Linked DNA regions of Homo sapiens: regions 1, 3, 4, 5 and 6 are each linked to region 2. The links are contacts of gene promoters, found by promoter capture Hi-C in blood cells and fetal thymus (Javierre and others, 2016). All regions are on one chromosome and are shown on one strand. The core of a region is centred on a gene start or on the middle of the fragment in contact, and the rest is flanking DNA. Distances in the headings are between cores, read along the strand shown.

Region 1 (3,584 bases), core at 664-3,163, 3.3 Mb after region 2:
CATATGCATTAAACAGACTGGCTGTCCAGGCCCTAGGAGATTAGAAGATAAGTCAACAAGATCTGGAGAAGAGGCATAAAGAGGAACCCATGGGAATGGGGAGGAACCCATGGGAATGGGCAGGAAACCTATATAGGCCAAGTCATAGGTCGGTCAGAGCCTGGCATGAAGCTCCCACAGGATGCATTTAGTCAGGTGCACGGGACGCATTTAGTCAGGTGCACGGGACGCATTTAGTCAGGTGCACGGGACGCATTTAGTCAGGTGCACGGGACGCATTTAGTCAGGTGCACGGGACGCATTTAGTCAGGTGCACGGGACGCATTTAGTCAGGTGCACGGGACGCATTTAGTCAGGTGCACGGGACGCATTTAGTCAGGTGCACGGGACGCATTTAGTCAGGTGCACGGGACGCATTTAGTCAGGTGCACGGGATGCATTTAGTCAGGTGCACGGGATGACTTATAGCCAGGTGTAACTCGGCCACCCGAGCGCTCCTAGAATAGGCCCATTGACAGCCATCCAACTCCATGGTCCTGACCTGTAACAGACTTCAATTAAGACCTCTATAAAGCCACCATCCCTTAGACAAATCCACCACCCAATCCCTATTCAAGACACAACATGCTGCTCAGTAGGGAGTAGTCTGCCAGCCTTAGTCAGTCCCTCCAAGGGCAGCCCACAGCCATGAACTAGCCAAACCAGCAGTCCTACCCATCTGTGACCTGGAACCACCTTAATGAGATGCTGCCTCTGGAGCTCCCCGACAGGCTCAGTCAAGCTTTACATCCTAGTCTGACCTCTGCCCGATCCTGCTTCCTTCCCCTTTTCACAGGTTTTAAATCTATTACACGTTTTAGACAAACTCTTCCAGTCTTGACTCAGCACCTCCAAGAGCTCAACTGCACCATCTCCATGAACTATTCCACAGCCGACCCAACCTGGCTCAAGGGGGAAAGAAGACTGGCTTGTGATGGCCTCTTCCATAGCCTACCCTTGGTTCACCAGCAGTTTCGAGGCAGTTTGCTAACAAGAAACCCAGTCTGGAACTAGCATATTTGAGTTGCAGTATTTTGGACAGATGTCCTATACTATTTATCTAGTAGCAAGAGTATAGGTCTGGATCCAAGGAGAAATTTCTCCCTCACAACCCACAATGCTCAGGAGGGAGACCATTCATGTTCCATCCCTGCAAGGTTAGTTCTGGCAGGCTAAGACACTGCAGTCCTAGACACTTCCACCAGGGAACAAAAGCAGTGCCACCAGGTTATTCTGAGCTCCTTTGCCTGGAGATCAGGGGTTGCTGATACAGGGAGGAAAGTATATGGGATGTGGGTGAGTCACTAGGGCACTTTTTGGAGCTTCCCAGTGGCTAGGCTTCACAATGGCCATAACCTGACCAGACCAGGATCTCAGACCACTTAGGAACAAAAGACTTTGGTCACCTAAACCAGTCAAGTGTTGGCCAGCTGTGATGTAGTTCGCAGAAGATACAGTGACTATCAACTACATCTTAGAATGACAGTCCTTACAGACCCGATTTGAAACCATAGCTGCCCATCACTTGCAGATCTGACAACATGTCACACACCACCTTCACAGAACTGTCTGGCTGTGAGCATGCTTACCTACTAAGGGCTCTAGCTGTTAGCTCATGTTCCTTTTGGGGTGGCCCCAAGCCAACATTGAGCTGAGCCATTTCCACCTAATGTGGGATTCAAATTGAGGATTATCTTGCTCCAAAGCTCCCTGCTGGACTGGCAAAATTGTCAGGTTCAATTATGATGGGACAGCTTCCCTTTTCTTAAATCGTAGATCTTTTGTATTCCTAATTTAGTGCATATACTTTCCAGACAATTCAACCACACAACCACCATGAGCCATGAGTGTCAGTGGATGTAACGTGGTCCAAGCTGGGAAGTCAGATTCAGCACTGCCTCCTCCCCTACCAACCTGGAAGAACCTTGGCTCTTGGCGAGAAGCAGCTACTAGCACAAAGATGGGGACCACACTGACAAGGCAGCCTCACACCTTCTGACGCTGCACACGGGTCCCCTGCATGCCTGTCCCTCCATGAGTATCAGTAGGCTCCCTTTTCAAAGTTTGGACATCACAGTGAGTTAAGTTTGAGAGGCAGAATCAACACCAAGAAAGTGTCCTGGGGAGCTGTGAGGATATGCTGTCACATTCCGGCGGTTGACTCCTTTACTGAGACTCATCTGTGTGAAATGAGTCGGTGAGGAAGATCAATCAGCCTCGACCAATACAATCTGTACAACCTAAGGTGATCTGGCCTATTCTGCCCAAGCAGTTCAGTCATGAACCACCTGAAGAAGTGGAACCACCAACTCAAAGTCAAGATTCTTCACCTGCTCAGGAGAGAGAGGACGACGGAGCATCTGCAGCTCAAAGCCCTGAGCTGAAAGCTGATTGCCAGGAACTGGTTCAAAGACTGGGTATGAGCATGGAGATGATCCTGATGTGAAGGGGATGTGCCTACTAAACCCCAGAGCCTGGGAAACTGCCAGAAGGTGAAAAGCAATCAGCGTTAAAAGACATGCTGAAATGATGCGGGCTGCTATGTTGGGAATTTGTTCATTCAAAGTTCTCTCAGTTTACAGCCTTCCGGGAGGGGGGAAAAATAGTCTCCAGAGGAGCTGCCCTGCAGAATTTGCTACTGGGTGGGATAATTTATGGTACGCATAGATATTGTCACTTTGCCACAGCATTAACCATTGTGGTGGTTAACACTGAAGTGTCAACTTGAAGGAGGCAAACTATTGTTCCTGAGTATATCTGTGAGGGTGTTGCCAGATAAAAATTTGAGTCAGTGGGCTGCGAAAACCAGACCCAACCCTTCTCATCTGTTGGGCACAATCTAATCAGCTGCCAGCAAATATAAAGCAGGCAGGAAAAATGAAACGGTGAGACTGACCTAGACCCCCAGCCTACATCTTTGTCCCATGCTGGATGCTTCCTAACCTCTCAAACATCGGACTAAGTTCTTCAGTTGAGACTTGGACTGGCTCTGCTCCTCAAGCTTGCAGACAGCCTATTGGGGATCTTATGGTTGTGTAAGTTAATAAACTCCCCTTTATATGTGTGTATCCATCCTATTCTGTTCCTCTAGGAAACCCTGACTAGTATAGCCACCATTATGCGAGTGGTCGGTCACTGACACTTTGGATTTTCAGTTAAGGGAGAGAAAGCTAGTATGTTTAGATAGAACGGCAAGTGGCCAGAGGCATTCCCAAACATTCTGCAGAGACTATCTGGATAGTTTCTTGTTGCCCCCTTGACTTGGTCAACTGCTCACTTGTCCTCACACCTGAGGATCCTTTTATGGTGCCCTCAGGCAGTCAGTGAGATATCAGCCTACAGCTGTTTGCCAAATTCTTGGCAAGGATTCCCAACACCTTGCCCCTCAGGCTTCTAAGGAGGTCTCACCCATGGAATCTTGATTGAATTTCCAAGCCAAACCTCCCATGCTTGGATCTGATGTAAAGATAGTCTTCCAAGCAAAACCAGCTGCCTGGCAAGTTGAACTCAAGTCTTCAGAGATTTAGACCAACAGTAGGGGAACT
Region 2 (3,248 bases), core at 399-2,898:
GGGGAAAGAATTGGGTACTAATACTTAACTGGGTACCTATAATTGTGGGCCAGCCCTCTCTGCAGATGAAGAGACTGAGGCTCTACATAAGAAACTTGTATAAGGTAAATTGGCTAGAAAGTAGTGACACTTCCAACACGGACCATCATCTAATTATGATGATGATGAGGGTGATAGTTACACTGGTTAATATTGAGTGCTTACTACACACCAGGCATTGTGCTATCTACTTTATGCCGATTATTTCATTTAATTTTCAAACCTACACAAAGGCAGTAGTCTGTTCTACAGGTGAACTAACTGAGGCTCGAGGACACATATCTAGTAAACATGAGATTAAACTCCAGTGATGCCTCTAGGTCTGGGCATTTCTTTACACTGTTCTGCTTTCCTGTTCTAATGCCCATATGGTCTCCAAGACTACTGCCTCTGGGCTAAGCATTTTGTTAACTTAAGATACTTCATCTGCAAAATGGGGATAATTATACTTCATAATTCCTAATAGTAGTAAAGGTAACAATAAATTTTAAGTGATTAACAATGAAACAACCATAGCAGGACAGCATTATTATTTTTGAATTTACCTCACTAAATTGTAAATTTCATTTATGCCGTTTACCTAACGCTCCTGGACTGAGATTATCCAGGGCAGCAGTTCTTAAATTTTTTGGACTCAGGGCCTCTCTATAATGTTAAAGAATTACTGTGACCTCCAAAGAGCTTATGTTTATGTGGGTTACACCTATCACTACTGCATTGAAATGAAAACTGAGAAATGTTTAAAAACAACAAACGCAAGCTCCCTTAGCTGCCAGTGATGACGTCGTACACAAAGCGTATCCTCCAGGAAACGGTATACTAGTGAGAGAAGGAACGTGAGAAAGACAGACAAGGTGTCCGTATTATTATGAAAATTGTTCTGAGGTCATCGGGATTTCCAGAGGTCCCTAGACCACACTTTATGAGAACTGCTGCCTTAGGGTAAAGATGGGGTGCCAGGAGGTTGGCGATCAGTAGCGTCTGATGAACGAACCATGGGAGCCTGGGGTTGTTCAGATGAGGAAACCAAGAGTTAGGCCGAAATAAGCAGCGCCGGAGCTCCACTGTATTCACGGCCGCTACTGAGGCTTCCCAGCAGCCTCGGCCCTTAGCAGCTGTCCCCTCATCCGCCCCGAGGTACCCTCTTCCCTGGTCCGGTTTTTCAGGGGCCCTCTCTGGCGCTCTCCGCCAGGCTACGGGCGTCCCGGGTGCCCGGAGACAGGCCCCGCCCCGCCGCCGGTCCTCGAACTCCTGGCTGCCAGGCAACCCTGGCGCGTAGCCCGGGCGTCACTGCTCCACCCCGTCAGGCTGAACCATTCCCTTCAGAGACTTTCTCAAGAGGGAAGGAGAAAAGGGAATTTGATGGAACGCCTGAAAGCTGCTCTGCTCCCGTTTTCTCTCCTTAATTTGAACGAACACTTCTTTTCTTCTTCTAGCCAACTGTCTCCTGAAGGGAAACGCAGCGCCTCGCCTCTCCCGCCGGAATGTCCCCCACACCAGTCCAGGGCCGCGAGTGGTTCGGCTCGTCAGGCGGGGCCGCCGGTCGGCGCGGGTTGGCTCTGAGGCGGGGGCGCGCGCCCGACGTGCGCGTAGGGGGCGGGGCCGCGCGCAGAGGGCGGGGAGGTGGGCAAGATGGCGCTTGCCGAGTGATTCTCCTCGAATACCTCCTGCCGGCGCGGAGACACCGGGGCGGGGGTCCTGCCGCAACTACCTCCCTTCCTCCTCTCCCCCGCCCCCGGAGCCTTCATCCTTCCCTTCCCCCCCCACCTCGAGGGGCGGGCCTGGTTCCCGGGACACCATGTCGGACTCTGAGGAGGAGAGCCAGGACCGGCAACTGAAAATCGTCGTGCTGGGGGACGGCGCCTCCGGGAAGGTCAGTCCTCGAGCAGGCCCGCCGTCCCAGGCCTGCAGGAACCCCGGCGGTCCCCGGCCTCCTCCCCGCCGCCCGGCGTCGCCTCGTTACCCCGAGCCCTCGGGCTTCTAGGCCCGGGCCCTTCTGGTTGTGTGGCCTGAGGCCGGACACGAAGTGGGCGCTTGGTGAAGGCCGACGAGAGCTGTCCAGCTCCCCCTTAAAAAAGAGTCACTTCCTAACTCCCCGCCTGGATTGCGAACTCCTGCAAGACTCGGGCCAGCCTTTCAGCTTCCCGCCTCTCAGGACTGGCAGGGATTTGCCAAGGCATCTTAGCTCCTCTTACTTGTAGTCTGGGTCACACTTACTCCTCCCCTCCCACCCCCTTTACCGTTTCTGATGCTTCTACTGCATCGTGAGCTCCCAGGAGCGTAGCTCTGGAATCAGTATTCCCCGGGTGAGAATTGGGGCTCTGCCACTTAGTCGTCGGGTCATTGGAGGGCAAATTGCTAATCAGTTTAAGCTTCATCTGTAAGATGGGTATTGAAAAGGGCCGCCGCAAAGGGAGAAATGTGAAAATACATATTAAATGTGAAAATACACATAAAACCTTTAGAGCACAGTGTCCACTCAGTACACTCTAGTTGCTATTTTAATATCATACCTGTTCATCACCTCTGTTTCCAGCTCAGCACTCGATACAAGCAGTCAGTCAACAAGTGTTTATGGAGCTCCTGTTACGGGTAGGATGCTGAGGGTAGAGCTGCTTGCGTGACAAAAGGGATCCCCTGTTCGAATGAATGAATGCGGGCGTGAGAATATCAGGCAGCGTCAGTCTTATTATCTCCTAGGCAGGGGCTCCTACCCCAAGGCTGTGGAACTCCTGAAATGGAGTAAATACTGCCCGGTACGTGCTCTGGGGAGAGGGTCCATAAGATCTCAGAGGGGTCTATGATCCCTCCACCAGCAAATAGTGAAGAGCCTCTACCCGGATGCCTTCTTTCCCATGCTTCTGTCAAAGGCGCCAACACTTTCTGGGAATATTGCTAAAGTTTATCACCCCTGTACTCCCCTTCCTTATCCCAACCATAGTCTAAAGAAACCCAGGCTTTTATTTCCTGTTTAAGGCTTCACATTTCCCTGTTGCTGGTTGCATTTCGGACCCTGGTTTCTCTGGTGACGACTTCTCTTTGCATCCTCCCTGACAGTTGGCACTGCCCAGATACCTGCTTCTGCCTTTGGTTCTGACATTTGAGTTTCGAGGTCACCTGGGAAAGATGTAAAATTTTATATGCAAAATTTGAAGTATTTTTTTGTTTCTTTCTTGTCTTCTTGGATCCTTTGTTACAGATTTTTAAAG
Region 3 (3,536 bases), core at 726-3,225, 3.0 Mb after region 2:
ATGTTGGAAAACTCGTAGGCATTGATAGTTTTCAACCTTCAGTTCAGAAACAGCTTAAAAATGTGAAATGGGTAAGGTCTTATGATTTTATTATGCCAAATTCTAGTGTGCACAACAATGGAAAATCCTTCATTAATTCGGAAACAATTGAGGATTTTCAGAAAAAAAATAATTTGTATCCACATAGAACTGCTTTTCCTTCCGTTGCCTTAAAAGGTCATTCTCTAGCATCTGTATTTAAAAACAGTGTTTTACGTAGTCTTGGAGCTGCATCAAACCCTTTTCCATATAAAGCTGCTGTTTGTTTTGCTGAAAGTGGAAGAAATTTACACAGTAGCTCACAGCAGTTACTCCCATTTGCTGCATCACCTGCAACCTGTTCCTTCTCTGGAGAAAAGGGCTTATTGCCTGTAAGTGAAAATGACTTGGAATCTACAAGTAAAGTCAATATTCCTGTAAAAGTGGTTTCCTCTAATAGGAAGCAGGAAGATAACCAGACAGAGGAACACAAGGCAGTTTCAACTGTAGGCCAGATTTCCTCTCAACATAAGAGTGAGTATTTACATATAAACATAACTGGAGAAGATAGATCTCAACAGCCTGGGGATAAGCCTTTGGAATTAAAGAATTCTGAAAGGACTAACAACACTAATGATGGCCCAGTCATCTCATCAGTATTTTCTCTGAGCTCTGGATCTGAAAATGTCCCCGAGGGCATTAAGTGGAATAGCTCAACGTCTAAAATAAAGTCAATTGAACTGTTGCGCAGAAAGATAGCTCAGTTAATTGAGTCCTGTGGGAAGCCGTCATCTTTGGCTTCAAATAGTGCACATCGTCGCTCTGTAGGGCAGGCATCAAAGGGAACTTCAAAAGCTACCTCTGAAGGTATTCAAGAAATCAACGTGTCACTCACTGGTCTTGGCCATTCCACAGGTACTCTTCAGAAACCTCCGAATGATGGTGGTATTACTGGTAATAGACAGCTTACTCATCAACAAATATATCCACACTTTGCAGATGGCAGTAATAGGAAAACCAAAAGCAGAGTGGCCAGGAAGGCTCATGTTGCCACGCCAGTGTTAATCCCCAAAGGGGCTGTGTTGAGGGTTCTTAATTCCTCTGAGAATGCCCACATCATAGAGGCTACATGTGAAGCACCTGTCAGCATACCTTGCAGTGAAAGACAGTTAATAAAACCAGTTCCATTTTGCCCTGTGAGACAGGCGGACTCAGACTTACAGCCTTTAAGAAGTGAAAGGGGGCCAATAGATATGTCCCCAAATATCGAGACACCTCTGCGGCCTAAACTGAGAAAAGAGAGTGCTGTCTGTAGCACCATCCATAGAAAAACTGGCCTCTTGTATGGACAGCAAGGAAGCAGTGAATTAAATAAGCAAGGGAGACTGCTTTCCAGAAGTCTTTCTATAAGTAGAAATAAAACCAAACAAGTACACTTATCCAGGAAGAAAAACAAAATTCAAGCTGAACCTAGCCGCTGTCTCAAGGATCCTTCAATTTTTCAGGTTGCAAGGCAACTAAGACTGATAGCAGCTAAGCCAGATCAGTTGATTAAGTGTCCCCGTCGGAACCAGCCAGTCATTGTGTTAAACCACCCTGATGTGGACTCGCCAGAAGTGACCAATGTGATGAAGGTAATAAATAAATACAAAGGCAATGTCCTCAAAGTTGTTTTATCAGAGAGGACTAGGTGTCAGCTAGGCATCAGACGGCATCATGTACGCCTGACCTACCAGAATGCGGAAGAAGCCAGTCAAATTAAAAGGCAAATGATGTTGAAAATGAAACTCAAAAAAGTTCATAAAAACAACTACCAGGTAGTGGATTCCTTGCCTGATGATTCTTCACAGTGTGTATTTAAGTGCTGGTTTTGTGGGCGACTGTATGAAGACCAGGAAGAGTGGATGAGTCATGGCCAACGGCATTTGATAGAAGCAACTAGAGATTGGGATGTTCTTTCCTCCAAGGGCAAATAAGTAAACAGTTACTCTTTAAAGCAAGTTATCTTTTAGTTTATTCTGGTTTGGAGTCCCTCCACCAAGATTCAGTAGAAGAAATACAGACTGTAGAAATGAGAGGACTGCTAATTCTTCAGAACTGTAGGAATATTGGGAGCTAGGAGTCTGAACCTGAAGTATGTGATTGGACCCCAGAATGTATTTGAAGGCTCTGAAATTGTACATGCAAATTGGTACATATGCATTTTTCTGGAGAGAGCCTGTGAAACTGAACAGATTTTCAGTGGGATCTGAGACTTTTCTTTGTTTAGCACCCCGTTTTCTGAGTACATACTGATCTTTCATAATCCATTCAGAGGGGCAGATTGAGAATGTTTTACACATGCTCTTCATATAAATGCTACAGAAAAACCTTTGTTTTGGTGTGCACATCCATTTTGTTTTTGCTTTAATTTGTGTTCTGAGTATTTGGTGCACAATGGAAATTATATTTTCTACTTTACTGTCTTCAATTTGGTTATAGAGAAATGGCCATTCTTTTACTCCCTCCCTGGTTTTGTAATACTCCCGAGTGTTCCGTATAGCACAAAGAGTTTTGCTTTTACTGGCCATTTTAAAGAATGTTTTCAACTGCTTGCCTGAATTTACTCCTTTCACAGCAAGTGTTAGAAGAAAGATAACATTTTCAAATACTTAGCTTTTGCTTTCTTTAAAATACATTGGTTTATGACATATGGGAAGGGAACGTACCTTTTTGCAAAGACAAAAAGAGATTACAAAAGGAAAATATCTAAAACTATTTTCTCTTTGCCCTTACCACTCCCAGAAACATAAGTGACCAATTTAAAATGCTAGGGAACAGGCTTACAACATAGGTAAAACTCGCAAACACAGTTCAAGGTAGGCTCATAAAGTTGTGAAAAGGGTTTCATATGCCCTTTAGTTTTCATTTGGGATTCATCCAAAGACCATGGGTGGATGCTGTCTTCTCTCTTCTTGATCCCTTTGATTCATGGACACTAGACTCCCTTTGCCATTTCTTCTGAACCGGCCCTCCTGTGGACTAGCACAACTTCCTTGCCCACTGTTTCTTCCTTTCTGTGCCTTTGAGACCCCTTAAGGTTTTCCCTCATGCGATTACTAGAAAATGGCAGGAATCAACAAAATGGAGACCTCCCACTGTTTTTGCTAAAGTTACAGGAACACGATCCCTAGTTTTCATTGATAGTAACGCTGTTTCTAATTTGTCTTAACCACATTCATGCTTACCCTGCTGCTCAGCTTTCTCAGGGAAGCAACTCCAGGAACACTCCTTCCACTCCCCTCTCTACCAACAGATGTCAGGACTGTCATTTATCTACACATTTGTGTTCTTTAGAAAAAGGCCCACCCCCTGCACAAGCACAGCCTCTTGGGCAGATAGGTGGCTGGGTCAGTGCTTAAGACAGGATTCTAGTCTTCACTTGCCTGTGCAGCTGGGCGCTGACCTTCCAGGTAGAGCACAGATGGCACAACCCCGAGGCAGCCCCAACTTGCATTTCCCTCCCTCCAGGGGCTATT
Region 4 (3,636 bases), core at 452-2,951, 3.4 Mb after region 2:
ATGTGGGATTATGAGGTTACCTTCCTTACAGCAGGTGTTGTGAGGTTTCAAAGAGAATCCACTGAGGGGCCCACCCAGGGCCTGTCTGAGAGTGAATAGTAAGTGGCCGGTGGGGATTTGTTTCTTGATAAACAGCTACCAGGCTCCAGCCAAGTTCTGGTCTTTGTCGGTATTTGGCAGCTGCTATGGTGAATCAAGTGTGAACCTTCCCCACTCTGGTGTCCACGTAGTACAGAAGGCAGGTGGGGCACAAATGATGTGTAGTCCAAGGTGGAAAGTAGTGAGGGCAGTGGGGTGGGAGTCAGGGAAGGTGGGGGTTCAGGGTGGGAGAGATGATTTCTAGCTTGGAGCATCAGGGAAGGCTGCTTGGAGGAGAAGCCCTTTGCCTGGGCCTTAAAAGATAATTAGGAGAAGGCGTTGTGTTGTCGCAGAAGTTTACATTCCTGCTTTGGAGCTGAGGTTTTTTGCTGTCATTCAGCCTTGGCCTTAGTTGTAGTCACCAGTGAACATAAGGGCCCTGGCCAGTTATATTTGCACAGGTCAGTTACAGCAGTAACAGCTTTCAGCCTCTGTTGCTTGCAGGAACTTGGAGTATTTACAAAGCCAGTGCCCTGACTGGAAGCTCACGCTCACTTGGCCTGGGTGGACCATGGAGGACGCCTGAGACTTTCTCTGGGGTTCCCGGGGACAGTTGGCAGCTAAAGGAGGGCACAGCAGGCCCCTTCATCAGTGTTGTGTCGTCATCTGCTGAAATGTTTTTTGCTTGGGCAGGTATCTCCAACCTTCTAGCATGTTCCATCAGGTTCACTGTGGGCCAGGAGCTGAGATACCAGTGGCAAGCCTTGAGACCCAAGCCCCAGGACCCAGGGTCATCACAGCCTACCTGTAAATTGGAGTAGTGACCTCTGGCCCCTCCGTCACCCACCTGAGACTGGGAGGACATAGGAAAGTAAGAGAGCTTTGAGGGGCTCAGGGCTCACTAATTGTAAATGTTGCTGCCTGGGGCATAACAGAGTTACGGAAATGTCGCTTCTGTGTGCTTGTTTGCATGACCTGTGTATTATAGCGAGTCTCAAAGGCGGCACAGACATTGTACAGGTGCCGGGGGGGAGTATGTTTAGGTTTGCCATTCAACAGGATTCTCAGAAAAAGACCAGCTATTCCTGGGCAGGATGCCTCAGTGCACAGGTGGGAGGTGGGGGCTGGTGGGACCTGAGCATAGTGTGACAGAGTAGAATGGCCTCCCGGGTCAAGTCCAAAGCTTCTGCTTCAAATGGGCACCACTGGGCCTTGAACCAGGCCCTGTGTTGGCAGGGCTGGGTGCTGTTACATGCTGTCACTTGCCGAAGTCCGTGGGTCCTGGGTCTGCTCGCGTGTGTGACTCCTTGATTGCTGGCTGGTGTCCTTCATGTCCTCAGAGGCCCCCGGACTCCTCCAGGGGTGGTGGCAGAATTCTGGGGCTTGTCTCGAGGTCTTATCCCAGCCCCAGCTCTGGCCCTCACAGGCCCTAGCCCCCAGGTGTGGAGGCCACTGGGGAAGGGGTCTGGGGCCAGCAAGGTAGAGGGGCTGCACCTGTTCTATCCTCAAGGGTTGGGGTGAGGGGCCATGGGTTGGGGTAGTCAGCCCAAGGAGTGGCTGGCAACGTCAGGGCGGCAGCAGGGTAGCGACGAGTGGGCTGAAGCCTGGAGGGAGCTCAGGAAGGGTGGGTTGCAAGCCGGACCGTGAGGTAATCAGGGTCGGGATTTGAAGACTACCGGCTTGGTGGAGGGTGGAGATGCATTCCAAAGCAGTTATCGCTCTTCCCAGGAAGAACAGGAGGACTGCATTGAAAATGGTGGAGGTAAAAGAGAAGATGGGTTGGGAGTTGGCAAGGAAAACTGGGCAGGCCTGTGGTGAGGACTGAACGGCAGCCTCCCACTGCCAGAGCTGGCCCAGCCTGCAGCAGCATGAGAAGAAAGCCTGGGAGGAGGGGTGTCCCTGAGTGGGCAACTCCAAGGCTGCTCATGGTGGTCTCCCCCAGGCCCCCAGGGAGATGGGGAGACAGAACTTTTGCCTACAGTAGCACTGGGGCTCCTGGAATTGGCTTCCTGCCCTCCCTGTCTCGTTTTCCCCATTCCAGAGTTTTTCCCCAAATAAGCTTCTCAACCCCCAATCTCATTCTTCTTCCCCAAGATGGAAGGAGGGGGAGGAGGCTGGGGGGAGAGGGGCACACTGAGGGTGTCAAGGTGCCATCTCGACCCAGCTGATGGGGACAGAGCCTCACAGGCCGAGTGACACGTGGGGGTGTGAGGTATCTTTCTGGGTGTAGTAAGCAGCCTCCCTCTGCGAGCTGAGGAGCTGGGGAGGAGGCTGCTCTGACTCAGATGTAAGTCATTATCTGCAGTTTGGAGTATCTCAGCCCCCACCGCTGACCCAGTTGTATTTAGAATACAAACGAGAGTGAGTGATTCATCAGCTGGCAGGATTCTGTTGCCCTTTGGGGTTTTTACACACAGCCCTGACCATTTAGGGGAAGGAATTTTTAGGGGCAGAACTTCCTCTCATGCCCCTGCCCAGGCATCTTCCATCTCTGGATGCCCTCCCCAGCGGAAGGCCCATGGGAGCCCCACCCTTTCTACGGCAGCACGGCCTGGGGAGGAGGTCGTCCAGGCTGGGAGAGCCCACGAGGCCATCTGTCTGGCGGGATGGGCAGGTGCCCCTGTATGTGAGCGTGAGACCTCCCCCATCCCCAGTCAGCTGTGAGTGTACACCGAACAGGGTCTTGGAGGGGCTGCCTGTTAAGTGGATCATTTTCTTGCCAGGTGCTTTGGGTAGGGATGTGTCAGTGTCAGAATATGAAGGACTAATTGGAGTGGGAGAGGGTTGGATTGGGCAGACATTTAATAAATAGCCAGCATCTTAGTTTTATTGAGGTGTACTTTAGATACAGTAGAATTTGTCTGTATTCAGTGTGTGGCTTGGATCTTGACAGATGACCTATATAGTCCCATAAGCACCACCCCTGTCATGACAGAACATTCCTGTCACTCCGGAGGGTGCCCCCCGCCCCCGCCACCCCTTCCACCCTCACCCCCAGCAGCTGCTTATCTGCTTTCTGTCATTGGGGTTGCCTTTTCTAAAATCTTCTTTCATATGAAGTGAGAGGCAATGTGTAGTCTTTTCTGTCTGGCTTTTTCACTTTGCATAACATGTTGGCGATTGATAGCTGGTGTTGAGTGCATTTGCACTTTGTTCCTTTCTATCACTAAGCAGTGCGGTGTGTTGCCTGTTTCTCTGTTCACCTGTTGATGGATATTTGGGTATTTCCAGTTTTTGGCCATTGCAAAGAAAGCTTCTGTGAACATTGCTCCTGTGTCTTTTGGTGGACACATGCTTCCATTTCTCCAGGGCAGATACCTAGGAGTGGGGTTGCTGGTGTTTGGTGTGAGTAGTGTCTGTTTAGGTTTATAAATAACCTGCCCAACTCTTTTCCAACTGTACCATTTTGCATTTCCACCAGCAGTGTGAACATTCCAGTGTCCCCACCCCTCTACCCTTGCCAGCACTTGGTGATGTCAGTCTTTTCTTTTTATTGATTCTAGTGAGTATGGAGTGGTATTCTGTTGTAGTTTTGACTTGCATTTCCCAAGACTAATG
Region 5 (3,349 bases), core at 638-3,137, 3.4 Mb after region 2:
ATGAGGTCATTGGGGAACCTCCATGAAGCAGCCCCAGCCACTCGCCCTGGCTCTAATTTCCCAGCCCTACTTCCATTCCACACGGGTATTCAGGGAGACTCCATTCCTTTGCCAAGCATATCACATACTACTCTATGCTCTTCACATCCTTCACATATCAACTTTAGAGTCCTACAAGAGCCTCCCTGACCTTCACACAGAAGAGATAACATGTTCCTATTTTCCATAGTACCTCCAGCCACCTAACATGTACATGACATTCGAGCACTTCTAATATGACCAGGCCTTAAGAGCCTGCGTTTTATCCTTATAACGCACCAACAATTTGTATTACAGAGGGGAAATAAGTGACTAGGCACCAAGCTCCAGAATACTGCATTCGTGTCTGACCCTTTGGTGTTCGGTAGACATGTGAGGTGCATACATGACTCTAGATGTTCACAATCCCACAGGTTGTGATAGTCCACATGATCAAGGTATCTTGCTACGTTGGCTTCACAATTCCTCCACGGTCAAGGTTGATACCCAAAAACACTTTGCTTGGAGGCTCCTTTTGAAGCTGGGTATTGATGTGGAGTGGGAGAACATTTGGGAGGGCTGAAGTAAGCTTTGTGAACCAAATAGACACCCAGTGGCTGACACCAGCTCTTATGACTGAGCACTTGCAGTTTCCAGGTTTCAAATATTACAAGGAACACAACGTTGATTTCACCACCCAGCATTTTAAGACCATTCCTACAAATCATATGGGGAACAAATTAGAGACCACTTTCCCGTACTACCTAAGATGAGATTGAAAATCATTTAACATCCAGTATGCCAGGCAAGCACTAGGTATGTGGCTGACCTGCCGACACTATACTGCCTCGGTCATCTTTAATCTGCAGCAGGGCCAAGTCTCTCAGGGTCCCCCGTGTCCCACGTGTGTAGAAGCCTCCACTGTGGCCACAACTGCAGCATCTTTCCCAATAGGACATAACTACCAATTTAACAGCTGTGCCTAAATGTACCTCGAAAAGCAGACAAAAATTAAAATCCTTTTACGGAGTCCATGCCAGTTGCCAGATATTCCAGAATGTGTCGAGCTACTCGGTCTATCAGCTTCATCGGAGTCTGAGCTCATTCATCTAAAACTTCCCCCTTTGATGTTTTCCCTTATTGAGGAGCCTCCTTCTACATGAACCTGAGTTGCCTGTGTATGGTAGGGACTTCCTGTCCAATCCCAGCAATGCCATCGGGAATGACTGGAACCCTCCCAGACCGGAACAAAGTGGACCGAGGTCCTTGTCTAGACCTAGGGCCCAAGCCAGGGACATTGAGACAGCACCCACTCCTGGTTGCTTTGTGGCCACCACCATCCTCCGGGTCATGCCTAGAAGCAGGAGTACTTTTATGGCCACAGCAGCCGAGCTAAGAAACTGGTCCCACGGTCCCCAAAGGCGGGGGAGATGCCAACTCCTCAAATGCTCCAGTGGTTGTTTTCTAAGGCAGCCATGTGTTTTAGGCCGCTTCATTAGAGCATTTTAGGATGAAAGCCAAAACCAGGGTCAGAGATAGGGAAGCACTTTTCAGTCACTTCCTCAGTGATTCCTTTGCCAGGCAGATATAGTGCAGGCACCTAGCCTCTTGATCCAGGTTGTGCCTTAAGTCCAGTTTCCCCAAGGGCTGGTGCCCCAGAATGGGTGGCAACACTTTACAGTGTGACCACTGCCACTGTCAACAAGGTGGGTCACCGCAACTCAACCGCCTCTGCCTTGTCCCCAAGGCGCTGAGAGGCTGGTGGTTGGGGCTTTACGGGTGGGAGGATGACAGGGCAAGCCCTACCTTCAATATAGATGAAACTCAGCCCCTACAGTGAAGTATTTTCTCAGTGTGTGACCTTGTTTAGAGACAGGGTGGCCTGCTGCTGCAATTAAGATGAAGTAAAACTCAAAGTGGGCCCTACTCCCATAGGACCAGTGTCCTTTAAACAGGGAAGCGGAAACAGGCACAGGGAGAAGACATTAAGGATGAAAACAGGGATGGGGTGGTGGTCCCACAGGCCAAGGAGCAGAGATGCCAGCAGACCATCAGAAGCTAGAGGCCTGAAACAGTCTTCACAGCCTGGCAAGGAGCCAACCACACCCCACCTCTTGATCTCAGATTTCCTGGCTTCCAGAAAAGAATTTCCGTTGAAACCACCAAGTTCATAGCAGTTTGTTATGCCAGCCCTAGCAGAGCAGTACAGCTTCCCAGCCACATGCAGATCTCAACTACCAGATCCCCACTGCTGGGATGGGCAATGTCTACCCAGAAACACCACCCACTTGGAGGGAGCAGATCAGAGCACCTGTTTACCACAGGCAGGCAGAGCCTGAGTCAAAGGAGCAAAGGGCTGAATGACACATGTCCAAGTTCCCTAGGCCCATCCGCAGTGCGATTCCCCCCCTCCCCCACAGGGAGGCATGCGAACGGAGAGGCAGGGCATCCAGCTGGTCACTGTCTCCATGGCAACAAATACAAGAGCCCTCCTCCACTAACAATCTATGTCCATCCTGTTTGGCAGAAAAGCTGACCCTTTGGTCCACGTGTTGAGGGAAGCCGACTATAAAGGCAGCTAATAGCAGAAGTGTTTGGAAATGGCCGGAGGCCACCGCCAAGGAACCAGGGGCAGCATTGGGAGGTGCTGGCAGGAGCTGTGATGGATTTGTGGCTGTGTCAGGGCTCAAAGATCCTCAGCACTCCTGGAAAAGAGGGCTGGGATCCAGTTCTGTTTAACAGTCTTGAACACTCAAACACAGGGTGTTGAGATCTAGAGTTTCTATGCTCATGGAGCAGAGGAAGGACCCAAGCCCTCAGGCCAATGGGCAAGAAGGCCACACCACAGGGTCTGTACAAGGAGACTCGCTGCAGCGAACAGCCTCATGACCGGAATCTCCATATCAGCAACAGGCACTGGCACAGCCCTCAGACCAGACCCCCACAGCACCACAGGATGCCCAGTGACCACGTAGCCAAGCCCCTGCACTGTGGGCACAAAACAAGCCAGACACCGGTGCTCAACAGCCAAACACGTTAGCTCTGACCACACAACTGGAGGCCAGCAAAGACCCAGGCACTGTGGACTGAGTCAGAAGGAAAAGGCAGAAACCCTAGGACGGTAAGTAGTTACCCAAAGACAAAGCTTTCAACTGGAGAGCGACTGACGCTATCCTTGAACTTGGGTGAGAGCATGCTAAGATTCTACCTTCACTGGAAAAGTTGGTTATTTAGGGGCACAATTAAAACTTCCATATCTGATCTATCCATTTCAGCCCTTTCACGTGTAAAGGACAGTTTAGACTCTGTAGACCCAACCTGTTTAACTCCT
Region 6 (3,377 bases), core at 582-3,081, 3.0 Mb after region 2:
GAGCCAAATAAACCTATTTTCTTTACAAATTACCCAGCCTCAGGTATTCCCTTACAGCAATGCAAGAATGGACTAACACAGAGGAGTACAGGAGTCAGAGTCAGAGAGAAGGCAATGCGACAAAGAAAGCAAAGGAAAAAAGGCTATGCAATGTGGAGCCAGGAGACAAGGAACGCCAGCTCCCTTGGGAACCTGGAAGGCACAAGGAATGGGCTCATCCCTAGAGCCTGCAGAAGGAGCCAACTACGCTAACGCCTTGATTTTAGCTCATTTTGACTTCTGGCCTCCAGATCTATAAGATAATAAATGTGTGTTGTTTAAAGCCACCACGTTTGTGGTAATTTGTTATAGCAGCCATAGGAAATAATGCAGTTGGCTTTCCAATAAGAAGACTTAACTGAAGACAGGGCTGGCTTCAAGGGCATGTGATCTGTGCAGTCACACAAGTCCCCACACTTACAGGGACCTCATGGTTGGTTTAATGCTCTATGTCTTTACAAGATTAATGATATTTCGAAAAAAGAACTCCACATATTCATTTTGCATGGGGCCCTGTCACTTACGTACTCAGTCTTAACTAAAGATAACATATTTGACATATTTTGGGCATAGCATTCTTTTTCTTATATTTTTCTGTTATTAAGATTTTCTAGGCCGGGTGTGGTGACTCATGCCTGTAATCCTAGCACTTTGGGAGGCCAAGACAGGCAGATCACTTGAGGTCAGGAGTTCAAGACCAGCCTGGCCAACACGGTGAATCCCCGCCTCTACCAAAAATACAAAAATTAGCCAGGTGTTGTGGTGCCCACCTGTAATCCCAGCTACTTGGGAGGCTGAGGCAGGAGAATTGCTTGGACCTCCACCTCCTGGGTTCAAGAAATTCTCCTGCCTCAGCCTCCCAGGTAGCTGGGATTACAGGCATGCGCCACCATGCCCGGCTAATTTTCGTATTTTTAGTAGAGTCGGGGTTTCATCATGTTGGCCAGGCTCGTCTCGAACTCCTGGCCTCAAGTGATCCGCCTGCCTCAGCCTCCCAAAGTGTTGGGATTACAGGTGTGAGTCACCCAGCCCTGCCCAGTCTTTCTTTCTGAGCAGCTATGTGCCCAGTAAGAAATTGTAGGAAGGTCATAATTAAGGAAAAAAGAGGAGAGACAGATTTAGGGTAACAACTACCAGACTGGGCTACTACTGCAACCTTAAACTAATTATATGTTTTGGTGGGTTGTCTAGCAACGTTTCACAGAGTATTTCTAAAAGGGGCTTAAAGGCCCATGGCGTCCATATATCTAGCTAAAAGTGGGGTTCCATTAAGAAAAAAGAGAAAGCATATTGGGTAAAACCTGGCAGCTTCCAACATAACTACGATCACTACATTGTATGTATCAGACTTTTCCTAAAGAGTCACAGAAACAGTGAAAAAACAATTTATTATATTGCTCATTCTTAAAAGTCTGTGACCACCTAACTTCTGGAAATTTATCTAGAACACCTTTCACCTTAGGGTGCTTTCTCTACTCTGAACTTTTCTCTCAAGTTTTCCTAACCTCAAATTCCAGGGAGCCAAAACTATAAAAACTCTAGAAGAAAATCTAGGCAATACCATTCAGGACAGAGGCACAGGCAAAGATGTCATGACGAAAATGCCAAAAGCAATTGCAATGAAAGCAAAAATTGACAAATGGGATCTAATTAAACTAATGAGCTTCTGCACAGCAAAAGAAATTATCATCAGTGTGAACAGACAACCTACAGAAGGGGAAAAAATTTTTCTGATCTATCCATCTGACAAAGGTCTATCATCCAGAATCTACAAGGAACTTAAACAAATTTACAAGAAGAAAACAACCTTATTAAAAAGTGGGCAAAGGACGAGAAAAGACACTTCTCAAAAGAAGACATACACTTAGCCAACAAACCTGAAAAAAAGCTCAACATCATTAATTATTACAGAAATGCAAATCAAAACCACAAGGAGAAACCATTTCACGGCAGTCAGAATGGCTATTATTAAAAAGTCAAAAAAGAACAGATGCTGGTGAGATCGCGGAGAAATAGGAACACTTTTACACTGTTGGTGGGCGTGTAAATTAATTCAACCATTGTGGAAGACAATGTGGCGATTCCTCAAAGACCTAGAGGCAGAAATGTCATTTGACCCAGCAATCCCATTACTGGGTATGTACCCAAAGGAATATAAATTATCCTGTTATAAAGATACATGCAGGCATATGTTCACTGCAGCACTCTTCACAATAGCAAAGACATGGAATCAACCCAAATGCCCATCAATGATAGGCTGCATAAAAAAAATGCGGTACATGTACACATGGAATACTATGCAGCCATAAAAAGAAATGAGATCATGTCCTTTGTACGGACTTGAATGGAGTTGGAAGCCATTATCCTCAGCAAACTAACACAGGAACGAAAACGAAACACCGCATATTCTCACTTGTAAGTGGGAGCTGAATAATGGGAACACATGGACACATGGTGGGGAACAATAAACACTGGGGTCTGTCAATGGGGGTAGGGAGAGCAGCAAGAATAGTTAATGGATGCTGGGCTTAACACCTAGGTGATGGGATGATCTGTGCAGCAAACCACCATGGTACACGTTTACCTGTGTAACAAACCTGCACATCCTGCACATGTACCCCAGAACTTAAAGTGAAAGTTGAAGAAAAGAAAAGAAAAATTCCTGGGAGCTATGCTGTTCTCCTAATGCTGTTCTCCTTATGCTGTTCTGAATAAGGAGTAAACTCTGCTTTAGGTCTGGGAAGTGAGGTCTCCAAGGCAAGCTCTGGAATTTCATTTTTCTTAATAAAAATGGTTTCTCCCCAAGAGAAATTCCAGTGGCAGATGTTGATGTAACAATGTTCTCAACCTGCTTATTTGCTAAATAAATGAATCATTTACATTTTTCTTTACAGGGTTCCTGGATAAACTGGAAAGATAAATTTTCAGGGCTGTCATCCCCTTACTAGTAAGATAAAATATACTTGCGGCCGGGTGCGGTGGCTCATGCCTATAATCCCAGCACTTTGGGAGGCCAAGGTGGGCAGATCACGAGGTCAGGAGTTCGAGACCAGCCTGGCCAACATAGTGAAACCCCATCTCTACTAAAAATACAAAACAATTAGCTGGGTGTGGTGGCAGACGCCTGTAATCCCAGCTACTCGGAAGACTGAGGCAGGAGAATCATTTGAACCTGGGAGGCAGAGGTTGCAGTGAGCCAAAAGCGCATCACTGCACTCCAGTCTGGGCAACAGTGCAAGACTCCATCTCAAAAAAAAAAAAAAAAAAAAGATATACTTACCAAATAGTCATTGATTCAGTAAATATTGTGCCAGTCATTGAAGTAGAATCTCAGTATA

The links. Contacts are between HindIII fragments. The CHiCAGO score rates a contact against its expected background, and 5 or more counts as called.
Region 1: a fragment that was not itself captured here is called in contact with the fragment with the promoter of RAB28 in region 2 in 1 of 17 cell types (naive CD8 T cells); the score reaches 6.1 in naive CD8 T cells.
Region 3: a fragment that was not itself captured here is called in contact with the fragment with the promoter of RAB28 in region 2 in 7 of 17 cell types (naive CD8 T cells, naive CD4 T cells, non-activated CD4 T cells and 4 more); the score reaches 11.8 in naive CD8 T cells.
Region 4: a fragment that was not itself captured here is called in contact with the fragment with the promoter of RAB28 in region 2 in 9 of 17 cell types (total CD8 T cells, neutrophils, naive CD8 T cells and 6 more); the score reaches 30.6 in total CD8 T cells.
Region 5: a fragment that was not itself captured here is called in contact with the fragment with the promoter of RAB28 in region 2 in 10 of 17 cell types (naive CD4 T cells, total CD4 T cells, neutrophils and 7 more); the score reaches 16.0 in naive CD4 T cells.
Region 6: a contact is called between a fragment that was not itself captured here and the fragment with the promoter of RAB28 in region 2, in 9 of 17 cell types (non-activated CD4 T cells, naive CD8 T cells, total CD4 T cells and 6 more). The highest score is 30.9, in non-activated CD4 T cells.

Annotation. Positions count from the first base shown.
Region 1 is chr4:10,142,324-10,145,907 of GRCh38, reverse strand. No RefSeq gene overlaps it. Among named protein-coding and RNA genes, the nearest start is that of WDR1, 27 kb to the right of the region's middle. The HindIII fragment of the contact is 2,259 bases long and covers 784-3,042 here.
Region 2 is chr4:13,482,740-13,485,987 of GRCh38, reverse strand. It overlaps RAB28 (RAB28, member RAS oncogene family), which reads left to right and starts at 1,648. Exons shown (of 7, transcript NM_001017979.3): 1 at 1,648-1,912. The coding sequence starts at 1,838. LOC105374495 (a long non-coding RNA gene) reads right to left here and starts at 1,539. Exons shown (of 3, transcript XR_925413.1): 1 at 1,034-1,539. RefSeq lists silencers at 1,187-1,246, 1,209-1,503, 1,497-2,116 and enhancers at 1,387-1,506, 766-1,673, 1,469-1,763. The HindIII fragment of the contact is 2,971 bases long and covers 1-2,413 here.
Region 3 is chr4:10,441,562-10,445,097 of GRCh38, reverse strand. It overlaps ZNF518B (zinc finger protein 518B), which reads left to right. Exons shown (of 3, transcript NM_053042.3): 3 at 1-3,536. The coding sequence ends at 1,994. Among named protein-coding and RNA genes, the nearest start is that of ZNF518B, 14 kb to the left of the region's middle. The HindIII fragment of the contact is 4,941 bases long and covers 1-3,536 here.
Region 4 is chr4:10,105,531-10,109,166 of GRCh38, reverse strand. The region is part of intron 2 of WDR1 (WD repeat domain 1); the gene reads left to right. Among named protein-coding and RNA genes, the nearest start is that of WDR1, 9.4 kb to the left of the region's middle. RefSeq lists an enhancer at 969-1,700 and a silencer at 2,311-2,360. The HindIII fragment of the contact is 876 bases long and covers 1,264-2,139 here.
Region 5 is chr4:10,122,810-10,126,158 of GRCh38, reverse strand. No RefSeq gene overlaps it. Among named protein-coding and RNA genes, the nearest start is that of WDR1, 7.7 kb to the right of the region's middle. RefSeq lists enhancers at 2,404-2,904, 2,905-3,349. The HindIII fragment of the contact is 2,556 bases long and covers 610-3,165 here.
Region 6 is chr4:10,463,553-10,466,929 of GRCh38, reverse strand. No RefSeq gene overlaps it. Among named protein-coding and RNA genes, the nearest start is that of ZNF518B, 7.8 kb to the right of the region's middle. The HindIII fragment of the contact is 8,106 bases long and covers 1-3,377 here.